4 separate regions of the Homo sapiens genome follow, and regions 1, 3 and 4 are each linked to region 2. Evidence: promoter capture Hi-C in human tissues and cell types (Jung and others, 2019). All regions are on one chromosome and are shown on one strand. Each heading gives the region's core, a stretch centred on a gene start or on the middle of the fragment in contact. The rest is flanking DNA. Distances are from core to core; before and after follow the strand shown. Region 1 has its middle 38 kb from the start of LINC00929. Region 2 holds the start of GABRA5 (gamma-aminobutyric acid type A receptor subunit alpha5). Region 3 has its middle 75 kb from the start of LINC00929. Region 4 has its middle 140 kb from the start of LINC02248.

What was found. Contacts are between HindIII fragments. The study calls those that stand out against the background at their distance.
Region 1: a contact is called between a fragment that was not itself captured here and the fragment with the promoter of GABRA5 in region 2, in 2 of the 25 tissues and cell types used here (H1 embryonic stem cells and dorsolateral prefrontal cortex).
Region 3: a fragment that was not itself captured here is called in contact with the fragment with the promoter of GABRA5 in region 2 in 1 of the 25 tissues and cell types used here (dorsolateral prefrontal cortex).
Region 4: a contact is called between a fragment that was not itself captured here and the fragment with the promoter of GABRA5 in region 2, in 1 of the 25 tissues and cell types used here (H1 embryonic stem cells).

What each region holds. Positions count from the first base shown.
Region 1 is chr15:26,152,478-26,155,575 of GRCh38, forward strand. No RefSeq gene overlaps it. Among named protein-coding and RNA genes, the nearest start is that of LINC00929, 38 kb to the left of the region's middle. The HindIII fragment of the contact is 4,239 bases long and covers 1-3,098 here.
Region 2 is chr15:26,865,578-26,868,731 of GRCh38, forward strand. It overlaps GABRA5 (gamma-aminobutyric acid type A receptor subunit alpha5), which reads left to right and starts at 1,485. Exons shown (of 11, transcript NM_000810.4): 1 at 1,485-1,534; 2 at 3,152-3,154. The HindIII fragment of the contact is 20,920 bases long and covers 1-3,154 here.
Region 3 is chr15:26,188,588-26,192,052 of GRCh38, forward strand. No RefSeq gene overlaps it. Among named protein-coding and RNA genes, the nearest start is that of LINC00929, 75 kb to the left of the region's middle. The HindIII fragment of the contact is 3,638 bases long and covers 1-3,438 here.
Region 4 is chr15:26,254,366-26,257,488 of GRCh38, forward strand. No RefSeq gene overlaps it. Among named protein-coding and RNA genes, the nearest start is that of LINC02248, 140 kb to the right of the region's middle. The HindIII fragment of the contact is 7,226 bases long and covers 1-3,123 here.

The DNA of each region.
Region 1 (3,098 bases), core at 505-3,004, 710 kb before region 2:
TTTTTTGTTGTGTCTCTGTGAGGTTTTGGTGTCAGGATGAGGCTGGCCTTGTAAAATGATTTAGGGAGGAGTCCCTCCTTTTCAATTGTTTGTAATAGTTTCAGAAGGAATGGTACCAGCTCCTCTTTGTACCTCTGGCAGAATTAGGCTGTGAATCCATCTGGTCCTGGGCTTTTTTCTTTTTTTTTTTGGTAGGCTATTAATTACTGCCTCAATTTAAGAAATAGTTATTGATCTATTCAGGTATTCTACTTCTTCCTGGTTTGGTCTTTGGAGGGTGCATGTGTCCAGGAATTTATCCTTTTCTTCTAGTTTGTTTGCATAGAGGTGTTTACAGTATTCTCTAATAGTAGTTTGTATTTTTGTGGAGTCAGTGGTGATATCCCCTTTATCATTTTTTATTGTGTCTATTTGATTCTTCTCTCTTTTTTTCTTTATTAGTCTAGCTAATAGTCTATCTATTTCATTAATTTTTTCAAAAAACCAGCTCCTGGATTCATGGATTTTTTGAAGGGCTTTTCGTGTCTCTATCTCCTTCACTTCCACTCTGATCTTAGCTATTTCTTGTCTTCTGCTAGCTTTTGGATTTGTTTGCTCTTGCTTCTCTAGTTCTTTTAATTGTGATGTTAGGGTGTCGATTTGAGATATTTCTAGCTTTCTGATGTGGGCATTTAGTGCTATAAATTTCCCTCTTAACACTGCTTTAGCTGTGTCTCAGAGCTGTGTCTCTTTGCTCTCATTTGTTTCAAAGAACTTCTTGATTTCTGCCTTAATTTCATTATTTACCCAGGAGTCATTCAGGAGCAGGTTGTTCAATTTCTTTGTACTTGTGTCGTATTGAGTTTCTGAATCCTGAGTTTAATTTGATTGCACTGTGGTCTGAAAGACTATTTGTTATGATTTCAGTTTTTTTGCATTTGCTGAGTGAGGAGTGTTTTACTTTCAATTATGTGGTCGATCTTAGAATAAGTGCCATGTGGCACTGAGAAGAATGTATATTCTGTTGATTTGGGATGGAAAGTTTTGTAGATGTCTATTAGGTCCACTTGATCCAGAGCTGAGTTCGAGTCCTGGATATCCTTGTTAATTTTCTGTCTTGTTGATCTGCCTAATATTGACAGTGGGGTGTTAAAGTCCCTCACTATTATTTTGTGGGAGTCTTTGTAGGTCTCTAAGAATTTGTTTTATGAATCTGGGTGCTCTTGTATTGGGTGCATATATATTTAGGATAGTTAGCTTGTTGCACTGATCCCTTTACCATTATGTAATGCCCTTCTTTATCTTTTTTGGTCTTTGTTGGTTTAAAGTCTGTTTTGTCAGAGACTAGGATTGCAACCCCTGCTTTTTTTTTTTTTGCTCTCCATTTGCTTGGTAAGTTTTCCTCCAACCCTTTATTTTAAGCTTGTGTATGTTTTTGCACGTGAGTTGGGTCTCTTGAATACAGCACACCCATGGGTCTTGAATCTTCATCTAATTTGCCAGTCTGTGTCTTTTAATTGGGGGCATTTAGCCCATTTACATTTAAGGTTAATACCGTTATGTATAAATTTATCCTGTCATCATGATGCTATCTGGTTATTTTGCACACTAGTTGATGCAGTTTCTTCATGGTGTCATTGGTCTTTATATTTTGGTGTGTTTTTGCAGTGGCTGGTACCCGTTTTTCCTTTCCATATTTAGTGCTTCCTTCAGGAGCTCTTGCAAGACAAGCCTGATGGTGACAAAGTCCCTCAGCATTTGCTTATCTGAAAAGGATTTTATTTTTCCTTTGCTTATGAAGCTTAGTTTGCCTGGATATGAAATTCTGGGTTGAAAATTCTTTTTTTTAAGAATATTGAATATTGGCCTCCACTCTGTTCTGGCTTGTAGGGTTTCTGCTGAGAGATCTGCTGTTAGTCTCATGGGCTTCCCTTTGTAGGTGACCTGATCTTTCTCTCTGGTTGCTCTTAACATTTTTGCCTTCATTTCAACCTTGGAGAAGCTGATGATTATGTGTCTTGGGTTGATCTTCTTGTGGAGTATCTTAGTGGTATTCTCTGTATTTCCTGAATTTGAATGTTGGCCTGCCTTGCTAGGTTGGGGAAGTTCTCCTGGATAATATCCCGAAATGTGTTTTCCAACTTGGTTCCATTCTCCCCATCTCTTTCTGGTACTCCAATCAATTGTAGATTTGGTCTTTTTACATAGTCCCATATTTCTTGGAGGTTTTGTACATTCCTTTTCATTCTTTTTTCTCTAATCCTGTTTGCCTGCTTATTTCAGCAAGATGGTCTTCAATCTCCAATATTCTTTCTTCTGCTTGATTGATTTAGCTATTGATACTTGTGTATGTTTCACAAAGTTCTCATGCTGGGTTTTTCAGCTCCATCAGATCATTTATGTTCCTCTCTAAGCTGGTTATTATAGTTAGCTGCTCCTGTAACCTTGTATCAAGGTTCTTAGCTTCTTTGCATTGAGTTAGAACACGCTCCTTTACTGCAGCAGAGTTTTTTATTATCCATCTTCTGAAGCCTATGTCTGTAAATTCATCCATCTCATTCTCTGTTCAATTCTGTGCCCTTGCTGGAGAGGTGGTGCAATCATTTGGAGGAGAAGAGGCACTCTGGCCTTTTGGGTTTTCAGCATTTTTTTTCATTGATTCTTTCTCATCTTCATGGGTTTATCTAGTTTTGAACTTTGAGGCTGCTGATCCTTAGATGAGGTTTTGTGGGGACTTTTTTGTTGACACTGTTGTTGTTGCTTTCTGTTTGTTTGTTTTTCTTTCAATAGTCAGATCTCTCTTCTGTAGGATTGCTGTGGTTTGCTGGGGGTTCCCTTCAGGCCCTATTCATCTGGTTCACTCCTGCACCTGGAGATGACACTCAAGGAGGCTGAAGAATAGCAAAGATGGCTGCTTGCTCCTTCATCTGGGATTTCTGACCTCAAGGGGCACCAACTTGATGCCAGCAGGAATGCTCCTGTATAGGGTGTCTGACAACTCCTGTTGGAGGATCTCACCCAGTTGGGTGGCAAGGGGAGCAGGACCAGTTTAACAAAGCACTTTGGCTGCCCCTTGATGGAGGGGGTGGCTATGCTGGGGGGAAACCCACTCTTTTGCA
Region 2 (3,154 bases), core at 235-2,734:
TGAGAGAAGAGCAGCTGTCGCTGGTATTAGGTGTTAGAATTCCAACACCTAATAGGTGAAAATTATATTAGGCTGATCATAAAACCATGTTGTTAACTTTTTAAAATTTAATGTCTCCCAAGGAATTTCACCCTAGTGGTACATCTTTTGGGAAATTAGAAAATGAAGAAATGCATACGTTCAGTGATCCATTTTAGAATTAGAAAATTCAAATTAGCATCTTATTTCATTCATATTTCCTGAAGAACCACTGGAAACAGTTATTTAATAGTGTGGCTAAATGTATATTCAGAGAAACACTTCCTGTATATTTGCACATTTATGTATATTTATGTCCTATTCCTGGAATAGATTTACAAGTTTTGTTTTTCAGAAAATTTCAGAATTTCTGGAATGTGCAGAAGTATTAACAGGTAACTTAGATTTGGAATACACTGTATTAGAGATAACTGGAAAAATGAGAGGCTTCCTACACTGGAAGGTCAAAGATCTTTCCTGGAGGGGAGTTAGGAATTTGCCTTTACTTACCATTATTCTGTTAAAAGAGATTATGAATAATGCAGTTTCACAAAAGGAATGGGACAATGGTGTAAGTAAACCTCCCCATCACGTTTTCAGTGGCTTTCCTTTGAGTCTTGAACGTTTTCCACTGGGTGTTATAGTCGAGAGTCCCCCACCTCCTGAGGAAGCAAGACCTGGCAAACCCAAGACGATGCGCTCTTACTTGTGTTGTTTGAAGGGGCCCTGCTGCCGCGCAGTTGTCATTAATGCCACCCTCACCTCCCAGGAACTGCACCACTAGGACGGACGACACACCGACGTAATGACCATAGTAAGACCCCATGTACGTGGCTAATGAGGCAGTGACCCGACGTGGCTCGGAAGCCCTGCTGGGGAGATCCCGCCCCGTCACCCCAGAGGCGCTCTCCGACCTGCAGCCCCCAGGGCTCCTGGCCCTTTCCCGTTTGCCACTGCGGCTTGTTGTCAAGAAATGGAACTTCAGAAAACCCCCAGATATACACTGCGTTAGGTAAGGATTTCATTCTAATCGAGTCCAATGTGACCCTGGCTTTCCCTCCCGTAGTTATGCATTCCTGTCTATGAGTGAGATGAAAAGAATGTCCACAGGCCAGCTTCTTTCAGAAGCGCCTAAGAGATGCGCATGTAAGGGGTGCCATGGAGCACCCGGGAAGGACCCAGGCCTGGGCAGGGAGGCGTTGGGGCCGGCTCTAGGGAGCAAAGCTGTCGGAGTCCAGGCCTCTATCACCCGACTGCTGACACTGCCCTCCCATCCCTGCTCTACAAGCGGGCGGTGGTGACTACACGAGGCGCCGAAGATGCTGTTGAGGGCCCTGGAGAAACTTCAGCAGAACAGGGCCTCTCCCCTTGCAGGCCGAGCCGGGGGCCCTGCGCCCTCCCCCTCCGCCCAGCTCGGCCAAGGGCGCATTTGCTGAGCGTCTGGCGGCCTCTACCGGAGCACCTCTGCAGAGGGCCGATCCTCCAGCCCAGAGACGACATGTGGCGCTCGGGCGAGGTGAGAGCGGGCGCGAGTGCGCCGGGGGCGCTGGGGGGCTCTGCGGCGGGCGGCGCGCGGCCCGGGGCGCGGCGCGGAGCGGAGCTGCAGGGCGGCGGCGGGAGCGCGGGGCGCAAGAGCCGCTCCGCCGGGAGTGCCGGGGAAGTTCGCGCTGGCAGCATGGGGCGGTGACGCCGCACCGGCCTTCCGCGCCTGCCAGCCGGGCGAGAGCAGGCGGAGGAGAAGGAGGATGCATCCTCACCGACGGCTCGCCTCCCGGGGCCGGCGCGCAGGGTGAGCCCTGGGCGCGCTGGGCCGGGGCAGTGGGGTAAGAGGACGCGAGCGGGGAAGAGGACCGGCCGCCCCGGCTCGGTCCGCACCCTTCTCCTCGGGGCGCCTGAGCGGCAGGCTGCGTGGCCGGGGAGGAGAGGTGCAGAGCAGGCGGGGCGCGCAGCCAGGCCAGAGCGCAAACTTTACCCTGGCGACTGCGGGGCTGAAGCCGGGCGCGGGAGAGAGCGGGGTCCGGGCGGCTCATCCCTGCCGGACGGGGCACCAGGGCGCGGTGACCGGTTGGGGGTGGGGGACACCCGTTGCCACCATCACGGGAGCCGGAGGGGTGAGATCGCCCACCTGGAAAGCCAGCGTCAGCCCCGGGGCTCTGAGGCGCGCGGCGTCCCGGCGCTGCTCGCGGGGTGGACTCGGACCCCGCGGGGGTGTCGCGCGCGTGTCGCGCGGGCTGCTCGAGGCCAGGGGACTTGGAGTCGCTGCTGCACCGCGCGCTCCCAGCCCAGGAGGAAGGCGCTGCCTGGCGGAGCGCTTGGCTCGTACCCGGGGCAGGAGCAGGGGAAGTCTGCGAAAGCCGGGAGCGAGCCGGGGAGGGCCGGGGAGCTGGAGACCCTCGGCGTGCCGCTGCGGACCGCGCGGGTGGCGACCGCGGGTGCCAGGGCGACCCAGGCTGCGGCTCCGCAGTGCAGCCCCCGCGCCCACCTGCCCTGGCGCGCCGGCCCTGGTGAGCCTCTGTGGGGGTCCGGAGGGTCGTGGGAGCGCAGCCTCTCCTGGGGGTCCCTGGCTCGGGGCTGAGGGGCGGCGGGAGGCGCCGCCCGGGTTTCCCGCATGCAGCGCCGCGTGCTCGCCGCCTGGCTCTGGCCCGGGCCCCGCGACGAGCCCCCCGGACGCGCCCAGGCGACCACCGCATGGCACCCTGCCCTTCTTGGCAGGAGTCGCAGAAGGCCTTCGCTTCCGAGGTGGAAGTACCTGTTGTGTCTCCCAATTCCGGAGTTTGCGGGGGATGGGGGTTGGGGGGGCTTCTTGGGAAAATGCTTCTTTTCGAAGCATACTGTTCGGATGCCTGTGAGCACCTATTTGCGTTATGCGCATACTGAGAAATGCGTGTTTTCAGGAAGGTTAGTCGTTGAGCCCAGGGACAATGTCTGCCTGGATCTCAAATACATTAATTAGGGTCCAGCATTGAGTGGAGAGACTTCCACAGATGCAGTGCTTAAGTTATGTAGTCACGGGGACCGAATGCCGGGAAAGTAGCCACACTCTTTTATAGGCAGTTGTCACAGTATTGTGATCCTGCAGAAAACCTGTTTCTTAAATGTGCTTTTCCCCACTTCTTTCCACGTACTTTCTCAGTGC
Region 3 (3,465 bases), core at 370-2,869, 680 kb before region 2:
GACAGGTTGATAGGTGCAGCAAACAACCATGGCACACATTTAGCTGTGTAACAAACCTGCATGTTCTGCAGGGTTTTCTAAAAGTAAAATTAAAAAAAAAAAAAAAATGAAGAAGAAGATCTGCCTTTCACCAAAGCCCCTGATTTAAACTACCCCCAAGATGCTCACTTCTCAAATTACATGGGCTCGGGGTGTAATCATTGGATTATTAGGTTTGCCTTTGCTTCTGTCAGATGTGCTTACATATGACAGTCAGGCCAAAGTCACTGGCTTCGTATAAACAAATCTTCTTTTTCCACAATGATTTCTCAAATCCTCATTATTCTTGCTAGCAGATATCTTTTTCACTTGAAAGATGAAAAGATCTTTCCTAATCTGTAAGAAAAACAAATCCAAACACAACCACTTTTTATAAATTTTGGGGAGGAAGACATACTGCTGACAATATTACAAGAAGGCTTTGAGTTGCCAGGAAAATATCAGGCTTGAAGCTTGTGACAGAGAGGAGGAGAATTGTGTCTAAGTCTTAAGCTTTATGCCATAGATCCCCCAATTACACTAGAAATTGACTAGAAGGCAGTTCATTATTACAGTAATTTGGATAGTAAATGCATCATCAAATTTTTCATTTAGAAAAGATCATGATGATTATTTTTAAAAATTACCCCTTGTATAATGTAAGCCTGAGAAAGTTTACAAAGTACTAATAAGGCCTACCTTTTGGCTCTTGGAAGCATCTTGTCATCGGTCCATATTTGGAAACAGCTGTCACTCATGTGCTCCTGCCACCACCCCCAGGAGCCCAAGGGTCCCTGTCACTATGTGTCCCTCTTCGTTTCTTCCTGTGTTTCCCAAACTAGAGCTCAGAACAAAGCAGGCACAGCTCTGGGCCTGAAAACTTCTGTCTGACTCGACCTTTTCCCTGTGGACCTCTCTGGGGACTTTGTTCTTCTCAGACATCAATTCCAGAAGGATCGTTGGGCTATTAGAATTAATTAATATAATTTTATAATTAACTTTTATAATATTAAGCTCTTAATTATCCTGTAAGCAGCAATTACAGAACCCATGGTTCTTCTGCCACCACCTCCGTGACTTATATGTGGAAATCAGCGTTTTCACAGGAAGTTCTGCTACTTTATGGAGAACCCACTGTCCGTGAGGTGGTTGGACATTGCATTTCATTAAAGGGATAGGGAGGGAGGGAGTGGGACTTTTAACCCTGAAGGCTTGGCTCCATGATGATTGTTACGGTAACTCATGAGTCCTACTTGGTCAACAGTGTCCAAACCAGCATTTCATTCATTGGTCCCAAATTCTGACCCCAAATCTGTGTTTTTTTGCCTCCTTGCATGACGGTCTGCAGTAGATTGACATTGAAGTGGTTGTTAAAGGTTTTGGGAACCCTTGCATCATCTTCTGCTTTCACTGATACGAGTGCAGGGTGGGCTGCATCTCAGGGCAGGACACATGGTACCTCAGCCCTCCCATGACTCCCTCATTCACTCTGTGCTGGAGGTGGGGTGCTGGGAGGTTATCTGGCTCTTCTCTGCAGAAGAATGGGCCAGGAATTCTCAGCATGGGTCTTGTCCTCTCATTTCCTCCTAGGAGAGAGCTCCTGGTGGGGGGCAGCTGTTTTCCTCCTCTCTTGCCCTTGGGAATGACTGGAGACTTGTGTGCCTCATTCTAGGATGTGGGTTGAAAAGTCCTTGTACCCTCAGATTTAAGCCACGTTCCTTGATACTTTGCATTTTTTCTGTTAACAGTGGAACTTTGGTTCAGAAATTGAGTGAATAAGAGGGACATCTTGGCTGCCCAGACCCCGGTTTTCCCACTGTCAGTCAGCATTAGAGACTGTCTTTGTGGAAGCAGAACCACAGACCAGCCCTATGGTGTGGGAGCCAGGACACCTGTGCCATGCACCTACACTCCACAGCAAAGATGGACTTATATGGTAATAGCATGTAATATTTCATAATACGTTATTATTCTATGTCTTCATCTAGAAATTATCAAAAGAGTATTGGTTTCTCTCTCTTCTTTTTATTTTATTTTTTTTGAGACAGAGTCTCATTCTGTTGTCCGGGCTGGAGTGCAGTGGCATGATCTCTGCTCACTGCAACCTCCACCTCCTGGATTCAGGCAATTCTCGTGCCTCAGCCTCCCGAGTAGCTGGGATTACAGGCATGCACCAACACACATGGTTAATTTTTTTTTTTTTTTTTTTTTTTGTAGAGATGGGGTTTTGCCATGTTGGCCAGGCTGGTCTCAAACTTTTGACCTCAGATGATCCACTCACCTTGGCCTCCCAAAGTGCTGGGATTACAGGAGTGAGCCATCACGCCTGGCCTGGTCTCTCTGTTTTTGTACCATATACCCTGTTTCCAACCACAGTCTAAAATCCTGAAGGACAATAACTGTGTCTCATGCCTCTTTGTGTCCTCCCCAGATCTTAAAATGATGCCTTAACCATAGCAGGCATTTGTTCAATGTTTGGTGATGATTTTCAACCTGGGGTACAGGTATAGGTCTATGAAGACTTATTAATAAATGAAATGATATTTGTGTATGTGTCATTTATCTCCCAATTTGCAAATTGGCTCCAGAGGCTGAGAGGTCTGCTTTAAAAGGTGAATATTTATTGTTGTCATATCACTTTACCAAGATAATTGCTTTCAGATGTCCCACATGTAGTTCGCTCTCTTCCCCAGTAGCCACTCAGAGCCATCACAGCAGAAATGCCAGCTATGGTCTAGGAAACACTCAATAGTGAGTGTGACTCACTATTATAAATTATGCAGAGACACTCACCCTCCCTTTGGCCACTCGTTTTCCATTTGCAACTCTGCCCTTGAAGCCACCTCTCTGAACCTCTGCCAATCAAAGGCCAGCCACTGGGAGCCTCACACTGATGACTATTTGCTTATTATAGTGCACTCTAATTATTAACATGAGCCACACAAAAATGTCTATTTTTGACCCACAAAAGCTTATTTCATAGTATTGAACTATTAGTAATTCAGAGGCTGTCCATGCCAGGAGATGATGTAGTCTGTCTGCAGCAATACCTCCCTTCATGAGACAGGTGGTTAATCCATCATCCCTCGTGCCAAATTCCTCTTTCCACCGAGTTATGAGAAGTGATCATTGGTCTCATCAGCTCTTCCTGTTTGCTGTAATTCCTAATTTTTTGGTATCTATTTAGATGACTCCTGGTCCATTCTGTGTCCATCCTTTCCTGTTTATTATAGAAGAGGAGACATTAATATGCTTTAAACATTTTCTCCATAGGCAGAAAAGAACAAGACTGTATATAGAGAAATGCACAGCCAAATCTCTACAGCTGGATACACACAATAGAGGAAACAGTCATAAAACATATGTTGGGGTTTTAATCAATGTGTGCTTGATAACAAGGTCCTAAACTCAGGCATCGTGTTCAGTGCTAATACCTATGTCTCCGAA
Region 4 (3,123 bases), core at 155-2,654, 610 kb before region 2:
AGGAGGAGGGGACTGCAACAATGGCTGTGAAAGAGGAGGGGCTTGCATGGATTGAAGGAGGTGCAACAATAGCAGCCACACACCTCTTTGCACCTCTGTGATGAGAGGCAGCAATCAGCAACCAGAGCGTAGATTTACTGATATTTAGAGGACAGGGTACATTTTGCTCACCCTGGCTCCCACCACTATGTGCCATTGTTCCAGGAACACAATACAGCCAACTGCCACGGGGATGGTAGGGGGCTTGGGTAGCTACCGTACTAAAAGCTGAAATTGGCCAAAATTAAACACATTTATGTGGAAGGTGCGAGTCTTCAGTAGACTCCAGAGTTCCAAAATAGTTACATAAGACACATTCTGTCAGTGCAGTTGTCTCAGTGGGAGACAGAGTCAGTTCTTCCTGCTCCACCATCTTCCCAGAATCCTTCCCCACTTTATGCATCTTTATGTCCCCAAGTATAAACACAGTGCCAGGCACAGAGATGATACTCAGTGCACACTGTCGACTGACTGTAATAAGTGAACAAAGTATTGTGTTGGAGGGACTAGCTATCGCTCCTTAAAATAAAGGAAGCAGCTCTTATTTTATCCATTCAAAAAAATATCCTCTTCAACTCTGCAGTGTGAATGGGAGGGGTCTGGGAACCATGTCTACAGGCACTTTCACAAAACCATGCTCTCTAATGGCCAGGGAAGGGCACAGCCTCCTGGCTTCAAAGTTACCCATTGAGAAGCATAGTTTAACATAAGGCCATGCTTATAAACACAGCATTTACCCTGGGCTCATGTCTATGCTTCGCCTTCTTATGAAATGTGATTACTAGCTAAAAAAATAAAAAATATTCCTGGTTGCTTGATACTGTGTGTCCAAAATGCTGATTCATTTGCTATGTTGAGAGCAAACAATTTCTCTAATTTTACCTCCAAAAGGAATTTCAGGACACAGAGGATCTGTATTTTCAAGTGCATCAGTTGATTATGGGCTCCCCCTGCCTCAGCCTGCCTCTTCTTATATATTTATTTTCATATTTTCTCTTACTTTATTTTATTTTATTTATTTTATTTTTTGAGATGGAGTTGCACTCTTGTTGCCCATGCTTGACGGCAATGGTGCACTCTTGGCTCACTGCAACCTCTGCCTCCCGGGTTCAAGCAGTTCTCATGCCTCAGCCTCCGTAGTGCTGGGATTATAGGCAACCGCCATCATGCCCCCATAATTTTTGTATTTTTAGTAGACGAAGGGTTTTGCCATATTGGCCAGGCTGGTCTCGAAATCCTGACCTCAGGTGATCTACCTGCATCAGCCTCCCAAAGTGCTGGGATTACAAGGCATGAGCCACTGCCCCCAGCCATATTTTCTCCCATTTTAAAAGTAATTGCAATAATGCCCACTCCAGAAATCTGGGTCTTATCATGGCACTATAAATCATTTTGTAATTAATTTGAGTCCATACATTATTCAGATTTCTTTAGTTTCTCCTTAACATCTTTTTCTGTTCCAGGATTCCATCCAGGATCCTACATTGCATTTAGTCGTTTTCTCAGGCTCCTCTTGGCTACAGTGTCTTGCTTTTGATGGGCTTGACAGTTTTGAGATGTATTGGCTATTTTGTAGAATTTTCCTTAGTTTGAGTTTGTCAGGTATTTTTCCCATTGAGTTTATGGGTTCTTGGGAAGAAGACCATGGAGGGAAAGTGCCATATTAATTATATCATATCAGAGGTGCATACAATCAACATCACTGCGGATGCTCACTTTGATCATCTGGCTGAAGCAGTAGACATCAGATTTCTCCACTGTAAAATTACTTTGTTTTCCCTCTTCCTATGCTGTGCTCTTTGGAAGGAAATTATTTTGGAAATCACTTTGGAAAGAAGCCCACACTTAAGGCTGTGGAGCTATGCTTCACCTCTTGGAGGAAATAATAGCTACATAAAATTATTTGGAATTCTTTTACATGGAGAATTGCCTATTCTCCCCTACTTATTTGTGTATGCAATCATGTATTTATACCAGTATGCACTCATGGATATTTATTTTATGCTCCAGGTTATAATCCAGTACAATGTTACTTATTTTATTTCTCAAATTGTTCCAGCTTTGGCCATTGGGAGCTCTTTCAGTTGGCTCTTGTGTCCCCTTCATAAGCCCATCGTTTGATTTTTGAGCACTTGTTTGCTTTCTGATACTATAAGATGCTCTAGGCTCATATTGTATATTCCCTGCCCCAACCCTAGAATCAGCCATTTCTTCATGGCACCCTGATTCCGTGTATTGAAGTATGGTGTAAGGAACCAGTGTCTGGGCACTGGGTTTGCTTATTGCCTCCGGGGTGAAGCATTTTGCAGGAATGTTGTTTCATTCAAAATATCTTTCCAAATAGTATTTGTTTTCAATAAACTCAAATTATAAGAGGTGTATTTCTCTCAAGTCTTTTAGAACTTTAGATTTTCCAACTTTACCACTACTTAAGTTAATAAGATAATTTTTCTTTTGTTTTGTAAATTAATATCATTATTCATCTCTCCTAAACATGTACATGGAACTCCAAAGGCATGGTTGAGGTCCAATTTTTACTTTTCTAAATTTCAGTTTTATTTCTTCTTTTTTCCTTTCTTTCTTTCTTTTTTTTTTTTAAAGACAGCATCTCGCTCAGTTGCCCAGGGTGGAATTCAGTGGCATGATCATAGCTCACTGCAGCCTCCAATTCCTTGGCTCAAGCAGTCTTTCTGCCTCAGCCTCCTGAGTAGCTAAGACCACAGGCACAGGCTAGCAGCCTGGCTAATTTTTTTTTTTTTTTTTTTTTTGTAGAGAAGAAGTCTCACTATGTTGCCCAGGCTATTCTCAAACTCCTGGCCTCAAGCTATCCTCCCACCCGAGCCTCCCAATATGTTGAGATTGCAAGCATGAGCCGCTGCACCTGGCCAACCTCTTATTATTATTTATCACACAATGTAAAAGAGATTGTTTCTGTCCTCTAACAAGTGTCTCCATCATAAAAATTATTTCAGCTTCCTTTATTCGAGCTGATTCTGGTCCTGCTAGAACATTCTTGTTCTCCAGCAACTAGAACTTCAGGCAACGGCACAACTGGGGTGTAAGACATGCCATGATTTTGCACAT